Regions from separate parts of the Homo sapiens genome. Here regions 1, 2 and 4 are each linked to region 3. Evidence: promoter capture Hi-C in human tissues and cell types (Jung and others, 2019). All regions are on one chromosome and are shown on one strand. Each heading gives the region's core, a stretch centred on a gene start or on the middle of the fragment in contact. The rest is flanking DNA. Distances are from core to core; before and after follow the strand shown. Region 1 holds the start of RNF40 (ring finger protein 40). Region 2 has its middle 15 kb from the start of SRCAP. Region 3 holds the start of TBX6 (T-box transcription factor 6). Region 4 overlaps SRCAP (Snf2 related CREBBP activator protein).

The links. Contacts are between HindIII fragments. The study calls those that stand out against the background at their distance.
Region 1: the fragment with the promoter of RNF40 here is called in contact with the fragment with the promoter of TBX6 in region 3 in 4 of the 25 tissues and cell types used here (adrenal gland, lymphoblastoid cells, small bowel and 1 more).
Region 2: a contact is called between a fragment that was not itself captured here and the fragment with the promoter of TBX6 in region 3, in 1 of the 25 tissues and cell types used here (dorsolateral prefrontal cortex).
Region 4: a fragment that was not itself captured here is called in contact with the fragment with the promoter of TBX6 in region 3 in 1 of the 25 tissues and cell types used here (bladder).

Annotation. Positions count from the first base shown.
Region 1 is chr16:30,760,576-30,763,966 of GRCh38, forward strand. It overlaps RNF40 (ring finger protein 40), which reads left to right and starts at 1,747. Exons shown (of 20, transcript NM_014771.4): 1 at 1,747-1,785; 2 at 1,900-2,102; 3 at 2,543-2,710; 4 at 2,843-2,984. The coding sequence starts at 1,971. It overlaps PHKG2 (phosphorylase kinase catalytic subunit gamma 2), which reads left to right. Exons shown (of 10, transcript NM_000294.3): 10 at 1-601. CFAP119 (cilia and flagella associated protein 119) reads right to left here and starts at 1,487. Exons shown (of 9, transcript NM_001014979.3): 1 at 970-1,487; 2 at 623-654; 3 at 31-93. The coding sequence starts at 1,173. RefSeq lists enhancers at 1-611, 576-725, 1,316-1,495, 1,451-2,088, 1,576-1,835 and 2 more and a silencer at 810-1,039. The HindIII fragment of the contact is 9,225 bases long and covers 1-3,391 here.
Region 2 is chr16:30,682,867-30,685,950 of GRCh38, forward strand. No RefSeq gene overlaps it. Among named protein-coding and RNA genes, the nearest start is that of SRCAP, 15 kb to the right of the region's middle. RefSeq lists a silencer at 2,861-3,019. The HindIII fragment of the contact is 3,782 bases long and covers 1-3,084 here.
Region 3 is chr16:30,090,625-30,093,785 of GRCh38, forward strand. TBX6 (T-box transcription factor 6) reads right to left here and starts at 1,300. Exons shown (of 9, transcript NM_004608.4): 1 at 1,249-1,300; 2 at 452-617; 3 at 134-368. The coding sequence starts at 569. YPEL3 (yippee like 3) reads right to left here. Exons shown (of 4, transcript NM_031477.5): 4 at 1,690-2,175. The coding sequence ends at 2,086. RefSeq lists enhancers at 1-637, 1,770-1,959 and a silencer at 1,290-1,549. The HindIII fragment of the contact is 30,865 bases long and covers 1-3,161 here.
Region 4 is chr16:30,705,058-30,708,003 of GRCh38, forward strand. It overlaps SRCAP (Snf2 related CREBBP activator protein), which reads left to right. Exons shown (of 34, transcript NM_006662.3): 5 at 2,126-2,311; 6 at 2,515-2,655. Among named protein-coding and RNA genes, the nearest start is that of SNORA30, 4.0 kb to the right of the region's middle. The HindIII fragment of the contact is 5,132 bases long and covers 1-2,946 here.

The DNA.
Region 1 (3,391 bases), core at 497-2,996, 670 kb after region 3:
AGCTCTTCCCACGCCCCCCTCAGTCCCTACTCCCTCATCTCAGCATTGGTGGTCTTCTCCAGCTGGTGCATGGAATGGACGTCCAGGTACTTCCTGTTATAGTAAAAGAAAAAGAGTATTGGTGGCCGTTACCTATCATGACAAGGCTGTGACAGCTAGTGCGTGAGACTGGGAGTTGGCCACCGGCGTGAAGCTGGGCTCTTTTGCCAGCTTGCTGTGTGACTATGCAAATCGTTAACTCTCTGGGCCTAAATGAACTCTTATGAGCCTCTCCATTTCTAAAGCCTAGGGTTAGGAATCTTGAATTCTTTTTTCTGCTCTGCCACTACCTTGTATGACCTTGGTCAAGTACTCCCTGTGGCCCTCAGTGTCCCCCTCTGTACAATACTCCTTAGCGGCCATGAGACTCCATTTACATTCTGTCTTTGGCTCTTTTTTTCTCACACTGCCTCCTCTTTGGACTGGAGAGGCTGGAAAGCCAACTTCCAGTCACCTGGAGTAATTGCATCTCCAGGCCTCAGTCTCATCTGTAAAATGGGGATGCCCTGGCCACAGACAGGACTGTTGGGGAGACAATAAAGAACGCAAATATTCAGTGTAATTTTTGTCTCTTCACACTCACCACATGCAGATCCGGGGTCGGGGCAGCGGCGGCTGCGGAAAGAAAGCGAATTGGGGAAGGCAGCTGCGGTGTCCTGGCCCGTAGCGAATCTCCAGCAGGCCGGAGAAGCCGCTGTAACTTGCCATCTCATCTCAAGGACTAAGGAGAGGCGCGGGCGAGGGAGGGCTTCAGCAGGCCCTAGGTGCTCTACGCGAGCACAGTAACCACCGGGGTCACACACCCCTGCCTCTCCTCGCCCAAGCAGCCCGGGAGACGTCCCGAACGTTAGTAAGCATAATGACAGGTGGCGCCTGCGGGGGAGCCGGTTTATAAATATTCACGAGCAGACCAGACTGTCCCGCCCTCACCGGAAACAAGTTGGCTCCGGGGTCTTCATCCGCTTTCGCCGCCGCCGCCGTCGTCCACTGAGTCCGCACACTCGCACGCGTCCGCGCGGCCGACCCATGCACTGAGCTGCGATCCTTCCCCGCTTCCCGCCGCAGCTCGGAGAGATGTTCAAGCTCCGACTGCACCCTCATTCCCAAAAAGTGGCTGGTCTTGCGGTTGAGCATCTCGCCGCTCTTCCGTGCCGCGAGGCGCCCCGGGCTCCCGCCGCCTAGGTTCCAGGACAGCCAGCGCTCGGTCGGCGGCTACCAAGGCCGGGCCCGTTCGCCTCGCTCCGGCCAATCTACGCGCGGAGAGGCGCGGCGGGGCGAATCCGTGGGGGCGTCTCCCTCCGTCTCAACGGCGACGGTTGCCAAGGGGGCTTGTGAGGGAAGGAAGGCGGAAAGCGCAGGCTCACGCCAGTGGGAGCGAAGAGAACGCGCAGATACGTGAGAAGTTGCGAGTGCCCACCTGGGCGCCCTCTCTTCCAGGTTGCTAATACGAGGGCCGGTGCTGTCCTCCAGGCTGGGAAGTGGGAGCGCGGTGTCAGTTACTATGGGAACTGCCTCTTGGCCAATCACCGAGAGAAAGAGGAGGTGTTTGGGAAGAAGCCAGAGGACCCGAGTGGCGGGACCAAGCGTAACCAATAGAAGCAGAAGATAAAGAAGTTTCCTCACATCCGGGGCTGCCTTTGGCGCCTGCGCCCTGCGCACCGTTGGGGGGGGGGCAGTGGCGTCCAGTGACGCCCAGTGACGTCCGGTGAAATCCAAGATGGCGGCGCTAGGCTGACCCTCCTGCTGGTGAGGGCTCTGGCGCCGGGGGGGACGGGATCCAGCAGGTGTGTGCAGGGTGGAGGGTGTTTGGGGCTGTGGAACACCAGCCGTTCCCACATCTCTGCTCTGTGTCTTCTGCAGGTGACGGAAGTACCGCCTCCTCCCGTTTGACGCCCCTCAGGGGACCCTGCATCGCTCCAGCCGCCGCGGCCATGTCTGGGCCAGGCAACAAACGCGCCGCCGGCGACGGGGGCTCAGGGCCCCCGGAAAAGAAGCTGAGTCGTGAGGAGAAGACCACCACGACTCTTATCGAGCCCATTCGTCTTGGAGGCATCTCTTCCACGGTTCGTGGGCTCTTGCCTTAACCCTCAGAACTTCCCAGAGCCCTCCCTCTGTTCTCTGGCCAAACTGTGCGGAATCTTACACCCACTTCCCCAAGTTTAGCAAGGTCCGCGTTACAGGACCTTGAAAGAAAGGTTAGAAAGAAGCTCAGAACACGACGCCTGTCTTCCCTTTACAGATAGGAAAACAGGTTTCCAGGGGGCGTGTGACTTGTCAAAGACTAAGGATTTACAAGGGGACAGGCAGAAACAACGTGAGCCTCCTCACAACAAAGACACTTTCGCTGTGTGTTGTCTGAGCCTCCTTAGATTCTGTTAGCGGTTAGTGTGGGAATACCTCCATCTCCCATGCATTGCAGATGCTCTGCTCCTCTTTCTCTCTCTGTGATTGGTTTGTGGGCCCTGCTTGACGCTCTCGTCGGCCCCTTTGTTTCCTTTGGTAGGAGGAGATGGACCTGAAGGTACTACAGTTCAAGAACAAGAAACTGGCAGAGCGGCTGGAACAACGGCAGGCTTGTGAAGATGAACTCCGAGAACGAATTGAGAAGTTGGAGAAGCGGCAGGCCACAGATGATGCCACACTCCTCATCGTCAATCGCTACTGGGCCCAGGTGGATACCTTCTGCTTTCAAAGACCAGGCCTTGATTCAGCTGCCAATCCCCAGATTCCCCTGCTAGGAAAGGAGTATCATGTTGGAAAGCACTAAGGGATTCATAACATTTTTGATGTTTTCTCCTTCCAGCTGGATGAAACTGTGGAAGCCCTTCTCCGATGCCATGAGAGCCAGGGGGAGCTGTCTTCAGCGCCTGAGGCACCTGGGACCCAGGAGGGGCCAACATGTGATGGGACTCCTCTCCCAGAGCCGGGGACATCAGAGCTGAGAGGTAGGACCAGAGTGCTGGGATCTGGGGAGCTTAAGTTCTGGGAGAAGTCCTGGGGAGGAGGGGACTTTGGTGTTGGGCCCCTGAATTGCCTATCTTACTACTTCTCACGAAATGGATTTCATGTTTGGGCAGTAAAGTGCAGTGCACAAAAACACAGGCTTTAGACTCTGACTAACTTGGTTTATAGAGCAATTCATGTTTTGACACCCATTTGTTTCAAAACAGTATTATGGTTGAGTATTAAATATGTATTTGACGCTTCCTAGAAATGAGTGTTGCACTTGCTATAAGGGAGGAAATTATAAACATAGTAAGCAGAAAGTACTGGGGCTCCTGAAACGGAATGATTGTGTGTGCATGCATGTGCGTGTGATTCTAATTATATTGGTAAAGTACAGGAAGCTTCC
Region 2 (3,084 bases), core at 117-2,616, 590 kb after region 3:
AAAGAAAGGTCATCCATATGGGAGAAGATGAAATTAAATCAGTGACCTGCCGGGCGCAGTGGCTCGTGCCTATAATCCCAGCACTTTGGGAGGCCGAGGCAGTTGGATCACGAGGTCAGGAGTTCGAGACCAGCCTGGCCAAGATGGTGAAACACTGTCTCTACTAAAAATACAAAAATTAGCAAGGCACAGTGGTGGGCGCCTGTAATCCCAGCTACTTGGGAGGCTGAGGCAGAAGAATTGCTTGAACCTGGGAGGCAGAGGTTTCAGTGAGCCGAGATCATGCCACTGCACTCTAGCCTGGGCAACAGAGCAAGACTCTGTCTCCAAAAAAAAAAAAAAAATCAGTGAAAAAATCAGTGACCCACACTATATTCAAAAGTCAACTCAATATATAAGGACTTAATTATCAAAAGCAAAACTAAAACTTTAAGGAGAAAAGTAAGGGAATTTCTTTCTGAAGTTGGGAGTAATGAAAACTCAAACAACACAAAAGGTTAACTATAAAAGAAAATAGTAATGAATGAAACTATACTAAAATGAATGAAATTATAAGCTACAAACTTGAAGAAGATATGTGTAAACACATATAGCCATTCAAAAATATATACTGAGATAACCTAAAGGCCTTGTAAAAATCAGTAAAGCCAGCCAGGCATGGTGGCTCAAGCCTGTAATCCCAGCACTTTGGGAGGCCAAGGTGGGTGGATCACGAGGTCAGGAGATCGAGACCATACTGGCTAACATGGTGAAACCCCGTCTCTACTAAAAATACAAAAAAAATTAGCCAGGCATGGTGGCGGGCACCTGTAGTCTCAGCTACTCGGGAGGCTGAGGCAGGAGAATGGTGTGAACCCAGGAGGAGGAGCTTGGAGTGAGCCAAGATCGCGCCACTGTACTCCAGCCTGGGCAACTGAGCAAGACTCCGTCTCAAAAAAAAAAAAAAAAAAGAAAAAGAAAAAGAAAAAATCAGTAAAGCCAGCCTGTGCAACATAGTAAGACTGTCTCTACTGAAAAAAAAATTAGTCGGGTATGGTGGTGTGCAACTGTAGTCTCAGCTACTCAGGAGGCTGAGGAGGGAGGATCACTTTAGCACAGGAGTTCGAGGCTTCAGTGAACTATGTCATGCCACTGTACTCTAGCCTGGGCAACAGAGCGAAACCCTGTCTTGAAAAAATCAATAAATGACAATAAGCTAGTAGAAAAATGGACACAAGACTTGAACATGCATTTCAACAAGAACGAAACATGGCTAAAAAGCTTATGAAGAGATGCTCACCATCATTAGTGATCAAGGAAATATAGATTGAGATCATAATGAGATACTATTTTATACCCAGTATATGGCAAAAATTAAGAAGTCAGATAACACCAAGTATTGAACAACAGATCTTCTATACATTGCTGGAGGGAATCTGTATCTGTACAGCCATTTTGAAGAAGATTATCTTTTTTTTTTTTTTGAGACAGAGTCTTGCTCTGTTGCCCAAGCTGGAGTACAATGGTACGATTTCGGCTCACTGCAGCCTCTGCCTCAGCCTCCCAAGTAGCTGGGGACTAAAGGTGCATGCCACCACACCCGGCTAACTTTTGTATTTTCTGGTGGAGATGGGATTTCACCATGTTGCCCAGGCTAGTCTTGAACTCTTGGCCTCAAGTGATCCACCTACCTCGGCCTCCCAAATGCTGGGATTACGGGCCTGAGCCACCGCGCCCAGCCAAAAATTATCATTATCTTGTCAAATTGAACATTTACATACCTTAAAACCCAGCAGTTCCATTTTTGGGCAAATATCCAGGAGTAAGTCTTGCTCAAGTGTTCCAGGAGACATGTACATGAATATTCATAACTGCAGTCAACATATGATAGAAACACTCATAAAGAAACCAAAATGCCCTTCAACAGGAGAACAGATAAATACATTGGGGTACCTTGACAAAATAAAATATTATAAAAGAGTGAAATTTCGGCTGGGCGCGGTGGCTCACGCCTGTAATCCCAGCACTTTGGGAGGCCGAGGCGGGTGGATCACGAGGTCAGGAGATCGAGACCATCCTGGCTAACATGGTGAAACCCCGTCTTCACTAAAAATACAAAAAGTTCTCCGGGCGTGGTGGTGGGCGCCTGTAGTCCCAGCTACTCGGGAGGCTGAGGCAGGAGAATGACGTGAGCCCAGGAGGCAGAGCTTGCAGTGAGCGGAGATCGCGCCACTGCACTATAGCCTGGGCGACAGAGCAACACTCCATCTCAAAAAAAAAAAAAAAAAAAAAAGTGAAATTTCAATGAACCACAGCCACACATAAAAGTATGAATGATTTTTGTCAATACAATATCGAGTGTAAAAAAGAAACAGCTTGCCAGGCGCGGTGGCTCACGCCTGTAATCCCAGCATTTTGGGAGGCCGAGGTGGGCGGATCATGAGATCAGGAGATTGAGACCATCCTGGCTAACACAGTGAAACCCCGCCTCTACTAAAAATACAAAAAATTATCCGGGCGTGGTGGCGGGTGCCTGTAGTCCCAGCTACTCGGGAGGCTGAGGCAGGAGAATGGCGTGAACCCAGGAGGCGGAGCTTGCAGTGAGCCGAGATTGCGCCACTGCACTCCAGCCTGGGCAACAGAGCGAGACTCCGTCTCAAAAAGAAAGAAAGAAACAGCTCTAGAGGATTACATACACCATTATACTCTTTTATTATTACTTTTTAAATTTTATTTACTTATTTATTTACTTTGAGACGGAGTCTTGCGTTGTCGCCCAGGCAGGAATGCAGTGGCGCGATCCCGCCTCACTGCAACCTCCACCTCCCAGGTTCAAGTGATTCTCCCACCTCAGCCTCCAGAGTAGCTAGGCATACAGGAGCGCACCATCATGCCTGGCTAATTTTTTGGTATTTTTAGTACACAACGGAGTTTCACTATGTTGGCCAGGATGGTCTCGAACTCCTGACCTCAGGTGATCTGCCCGCCTCAGCCTCCCAAAGTGCTGGGATTACAGGCGTGAGCCACTGTGCCTGGCTCATCGTCCTTTCTTTCTAAAGCTTGCACATACGCCATTTACGGTTACAGCACAATTGAATCAAACAA
Region 3 (3,161 bases), core at 50-2,549:
GGCCATAGTCAGATTCTAGGCCTAGGCAGAGCTCTAGCCCCTCGGGAACCACCCAGTCCTAGCCCCCTCCCCAGGGACTCTGCCTTTCCCAAGAGACCCCCACCAGAAACACGGACCCTGGCCAGCCCCTCACCTCCCAGCTTTGGTGATGATCATTTCTGTTCCCACAGAGCTGAACTCCTTCCATAGCTCCCGGTTCTCCAGGCTCAGGCTGACCCCCGGGAGGGAATGGAGGGCCTCTGGAGCTGATGGGGCCGGCTCAGTGCCCATGGCAGGGGGCAGAAGGGGCAGAGGTGGGTGCGCGGCCAGGGTGCGGGGAGCAGCCTCCATCCCGGAGAGGAAGCAATCCAGTTTAGGGGTGTCCAGTTCTGGAAGCCGGGGAAGAATGAGGAGCCAGCCGAGGGCCACAGCCCCCCTATTCTCCTACCCAGGAGCTGGTCCCAACGCTCACCGGGGTAGCGGTAGCCCTCCGCTAGGGCGGGTGGGAAGCTGGAGTCGGCCCCAGGTTGGGCGGGCCCCAGGCGGTAGCCGGCCCCCAGGGACGGGTACAATTCTCGTGGATGGTACATGTTGTAGTTCCGTCTGGCCTCAGGTCTCGCTGCTTAGGGCCCCCGGTGCTGCGAGATGCCCCCTTTATAGCTCACAGCTCAGCCCCTTCCAGATCCAGGATCACAGCCCCTCCCCTCTTTGGGGCCCTGGAGTTGGGCTGGGGTGGAGACCCCTGGGGCCTCGAAGGGGTCCGAGAGGGGGTCGGATACCTGGGTACGGTCCCCTCCTCCCCTCCCTCCCCACCCCGGGAGGCTTCATTAGCCTCGACCCCCTGCCCCCTCATTACATAATTAACTCCTCGGCTTGATTGATCCCCAGGGCTCGGACAGGGACGCAGTTTGGCGCTTCCGGCCAGCTGGTCCCCGTTCCCACGGTGGGGAGCCCCGGCTAGGGATAAGCTGGGGGGCGGGGCCTGGAACCTGGACGGAGCCAAGAGTCCCGGGACACACCTTGGCGCCCCAGACCTTCTGGCAGGTGACCGCCCTCCGCCCCCCTTCACTTGGAGGCCGGGCCCTGGAGGGAAGCAGCGTGAACAGAGGGAAAGTGCAGGCTAGAGGGACGCGGCCTGAGCTGATTTCACAGGGCACTCGGGGCCGCGAGGAGGCCGCAGCCCAGTCCCGAGCACCGTAGTCCTCCCTGGTCCCCATGCTAAAAAAACCTCCATCCCGAGCCAAGCCTCCAAAGTTCGAAGGCGCTCACAGTCCGACAGCTTCTGACGCCTCGCGCCAGGGTTTCCCGAAGGTCCCGCGCTGGGGAACCCTCGGAACTACACTTCCCGGCAGGCTCAGCGCTGAGGCGCGCCCGAAGGAGCCGGACGGACCACGCGGGGGCCGCTGGGAGTTGCAGTCCGACCGCGAGGGGGCTGCGAGGCCGGCGGCGCGGTTGCCTCCCTGGGACGCTGCCCCTAGGCGGCGGCCAAACGCTGCAGATGAGCAGACGCAGATCAGCCGAGGTCACGGCGTAGGCAGCCAGAGTGGGCTCAGGACCTCCGCCAGCAGTGAAACCGTCCCGGTTCCCGGAGACCCAGCTTGGACGGCTGTGCCTACCCCATGCCCCGCCGGGGCTCAGAACCGCACAGGTCTATAGGGGCGGAAATCTCCGCTTGAGCTCCCCCTTCCCGGATTACACGCGAGCCTGAGCTGTCTCCACTCCATTGTTTTATTATGTACAAACGCTACAGAACGAGGGGGACAGACACGCGTGGGGTAAGAAGGGCCTGGTGGGAGGAGTTCACAGAGCAGACGGTGCACTGGGACCAGGAGAGCAGAACACAGGCCATAACTATAGGGCAGGTGGGGCAGGAACGGGTTAAAAACGAGATCCAAGCCAGCCAGATCGCAGGAGGTGCGGGGGCGTCGTCCCCCTTCTGTTCTCCCCCCAAGGTCACAGTGCATGCAATAAAATATATATACAGGAGCTAGATCCGTCCTCTGCAGGGGCTCTGAGGGTCCAGAGCTCCCTTCGGGTGGCGGGAAGCCAGTGGCGCTCCCTGGCGGCCAGGCCGGGCTGGAGCCACATGCGTCGGGGGAGCGGGGGTCAGTCCCAGCCGTTGTCTTTGATCATGTGGTTGAGTTCAATGATGTACTTCCCCTCTTTGTACTTCTGGCTGCTCTCAAAGGCCTGTTCCTGAAAGGAGGGGCGGGACCGTCATCCCCGGAGCAACAGTCTCACCACAAGGCACTGGGGTTGGGAAGTGGACATGAGTGGCCCCATTTTACATATGAGGAAACTGTGGCCCAGAGGGGCAGGGCCGTATTTCTCACAAACACAGAGTAGAATAGAACTCCCTGACTCAAAGGTACTTTTTTAAGTACTAATGATGGCTCCAACAGAGAAGATAGGGAAGTGGCTAAAAGATTTCACAGTTCAGGGTTTGCAAACTGGTAGCTTCATGGCCATTTTGGCCTACAACATGTATTATGTTTGGACAGCAGACAGTTTAATAAAAATAACTTTAAAGTATTAAAATATAAGTAGGCCTTGCTCACTCCAGTTTGCCCAGCCTGCCCCCAACTCCCAACCCTGCCAATCTATGCTACCCTTTACACATCTACAGTATCTGCTTGGCCTTGCAGGCACTTGAGGTTTTTTTGTTTGTTTGGTTTTGAGAGGGAGTCTTGCTCTGTCGCCCAGGCTGGAAGTGCAACGGCGCGATATCGGCTCACTGCAACCTCCGCTTCCCGGGTTCAAGTGATTCTGCTGCCTTGGCCCCGAGTAGCTGGGATTACAGGCGCCCACCACCACGCCGAGCTAATTTTTGTATTTTTAGTAGAGATGGGGTTTCACCATGTTAGTCAGGCTGTTCTCGAACTCCTGACCTCAGGTGATCCACCTGCCTCAGACTCCCAAAAGTGCTGGGATTACAGGCGTGAGCCACCACACCCAGCCTGGCACTTGAGTTTTTGACCTCTTGTTTAGGCCAGCTCTTTATTAATTATTATTATTTTTGAAACGGAGTCTCGCTCTGTCTCCGCTCACTGCAAGGCTCTGCCTCCTGGGTTCACGCAATTCTCCTGCCTCAACCTCATGAGTAGCTGGGACTAGAGGCGCCCGCCACCACACCCAGCTGATTTTTTTTTTTTTTTTTTGTATTTTTGGTAGAGATGGGGTTT
Region 4 (2,946 bases), core at 256-2,755, 610 kb after region 3:
TGGGAGGCCGAGGCGGGTGGATCACCTGAGGTCAGGAGTTCGAGACCAGCCTGGCCAACGTGGCAAAATCCCATCTCTGCTAAAAATACAAAAATTAGCCTGGCGTGGTGGCGCAGGCCTGTAGTCCTAGCTACTCAGGAAGCTGAGGCAGGGAAATTGCTTGAACTGGGAACCGGAGGTTGCAGTGACCTGAGATGATGCCACTGCACACCAGCCTGGGTAACAGTGAGACTCTGTCTCAAAAAAAAATGCAAATTCTTGGTACCTCTCACCCACCGACCCATTTGAAACTATGAGGGTAGGGCCCAGCAATGTTTTTATTTTTTATTTTTATTTTTATTTTATTTATTTATTTTGTTGAGACGGAGTCTCGCTCTGTCGCCCAGGCTGGAGTGCAGTGGCAGAATTTTGGCTCACTGCAAGCTCCGCCTCCCGGGTTCACAGCCATTCTCTGGCCTCAGCCTCCTGAGTAGCTAGGACTACAGGCGCCCGCCATCACACCCGGCTAAATTTTTTGTATTTTTAGTAGAGATGGGGTTTCACCATGTTGGCGGGATGGTCTTGATCTCTTGACCTTGTGATCTGCCAGCCTCGGCCTCTGAAAGTGCTGGGATTACAGGCATGAGCCACTGCGCCCGGCCACAATTGGGTTTTTTTTTTTTTCCTTGAGACGGAGTCTCAGTCTTTCGCTGAGGCTGGAGTGCAGTGGCATGATCTCGGCTCACTGCAAGCTCCGCCTCCTGGGTTCACGCCATTCTCCTGCCTCAGCCTCCCGAGTAGCTGGGACTAAGCGCTCGCCACTATGCCTGGCTAATTTTTTGTGTTTTTAGTAGACACGGGGTTTCACCGTTTTAGCCAAGATGGTCTCGATCTCCTGACCTTGTGATCCACCCGCCTTGGCCTCCCAAAGTGCTGGGATTACAGGTGTGAGCACAACCTGTTTCTAAAAGTCCTCCAGATGATTCCGGTGCCTCCTCAAGTTTGAGAGCAGCTGGTCTAATATCCACGTCTTTCTTGATGTTTCCTTCACTGTCAGGCCATTTAGTCCTGTCTGGTCTCTGGCTGTCATTTTCTCTGATTTAGTTTTTATCAGGAGAGGACAGAAATAACAAAGACAGAGGCTGGGTGCGGTGGTTTTCGCCTATAATCTGAGCATTTTGGGAATCCCAGGCAGGCGGATTGCTTAAACCCAGGAGTTCCAGACCAGCCTTGACATTGTGAAACCTCGCCCCTACGAAAAATACAAAAAAATTAGCTGGGCATGGTTGCATGTGCCTATAGTCAGTCTCAGCTACCTGGGAGGCTGAGTTGGGAGGCTGAGTTGGGAAGATAACCTGAGCCTAGGCAGCAGAGTGAGACCCAGAAAAATCTCACTCAGATTTCTGAGTGAGATTCAGAAAAAGAAATAAGGCAGTTGTCCTGAATTTTTTGAGTCGTCTCTGTCAAAAAAATTTTAAATGCTTTTTAAATAAAAGACAATCAGTGTAGAAGCTTTAGTAAAAATGACCACTCTTTTTTACACCTAATCAGTGTTAAACATTTCACGTATAACGTTTCAGTATTTTTTACATAAACATATGCATTTTTACAAAAGTAGTATTTTTAAAAACAACAGTGTGTCAGTTGGGCATTATAGCATATTTCTAAGCTTAATGCATCATGAAAATACTCTGAGTAAGTAGAATTCTACAATGATGATGACCCCTTGTATCTAGAATCAAGAGGGAAGTATGTGTTCCCTACTCCTCTGGGAAGCTCCTCTTGGGATATGATTTCCCAAGTCTCTCCTATGTCTATGGGGTGTGGAGATTGTGTTAAATAATGGAAAGAGCATGAAATTTGCTGTCTGGAGTCCTCAGACCTATTTTTGATTCACATTTTCTATTACTTTCTAGCTGTGTGATCTTGGGCAAATCACTTAATCTCCCTGATCTTTTTTCCTTCTTCATCTCCCTGATCTTTTTTCCCTTCTCTGAAGAGAGTATGATACCTGCCTGTAAGTTTGGTATGTGGACTAAACATAAGCATAACACACTCAGCCCACTTAGTGCTCAGGAATTCAGCCGTGGCAGTGAGATGGAGTGTGTGTTTAGAACTGTTGATTGATCTGGCTCTCCCTGATTAGGAGGCCGAGATCGAGACTCGGATTGCTGAGCTGCGGAAGGAGGGTTTCTGGTCACTGAAGAGGCTGCCTAAGGTGCCAGAGCCCCCTCGCCCCAAAGGTCACTGGGACTATTTGTGCGAAGAGATGCAGTGGCTCTCTGCTGACTTTGCTCAGGAGCGCCGTTGGAAACGGGGTGTGGCCCGGAAGGTAGGTCTTCCGCTGGGACTTCCTTCCTTTTCCTTTTCAGGTCTGTTCCTTCCCGGTTTGTTGGAAGGGGACCAGACAGAATGGTGTAGGCATTAAGAGCAAACTCTTGATTTTCCAGATTTCTTGGCCTTGATTATTTTCTTTGCCTTTGGGTGGGGAAGTCTGGCTTTGAGTGTTTTCACCCTGGGTCTTCATTCCCACAGGTGGTGCGCATGGTGATCCGGCACCACGAGGAGCAGCGGCAGAAAGAGGAACGGGCCCGGAGGGAGGAGCAGGCCAAGCTGCGTCGAATTGCTTCCACCATGGCCAAGGATGTCAGGCAGTTCTGGAGCAATGTGGAGAAGGTAGACAGTGGGGATCAGGAAAGGAAAATGGCCTTGGATTAGATTGGTAGATGGCGTGGTAGTAGGAATGATCAAAACTTCTTGAGGGAGTAAATATAATTTCAGGCAACTCTAATGACGTTTATGTTGTATGGATAAAAAAGTATAGTGGCAAAATATGGGTCCTGCCTTTGGGGATTGTTAATAGTTCTCCTTGACACCTCTAGGCCATCTGTCCCTTGCAGGGCATTTAGCATGTGTTTACTGAAATGTATTTGTGCCACTTAGCACATGCTTAAATTCCGTCAAAGT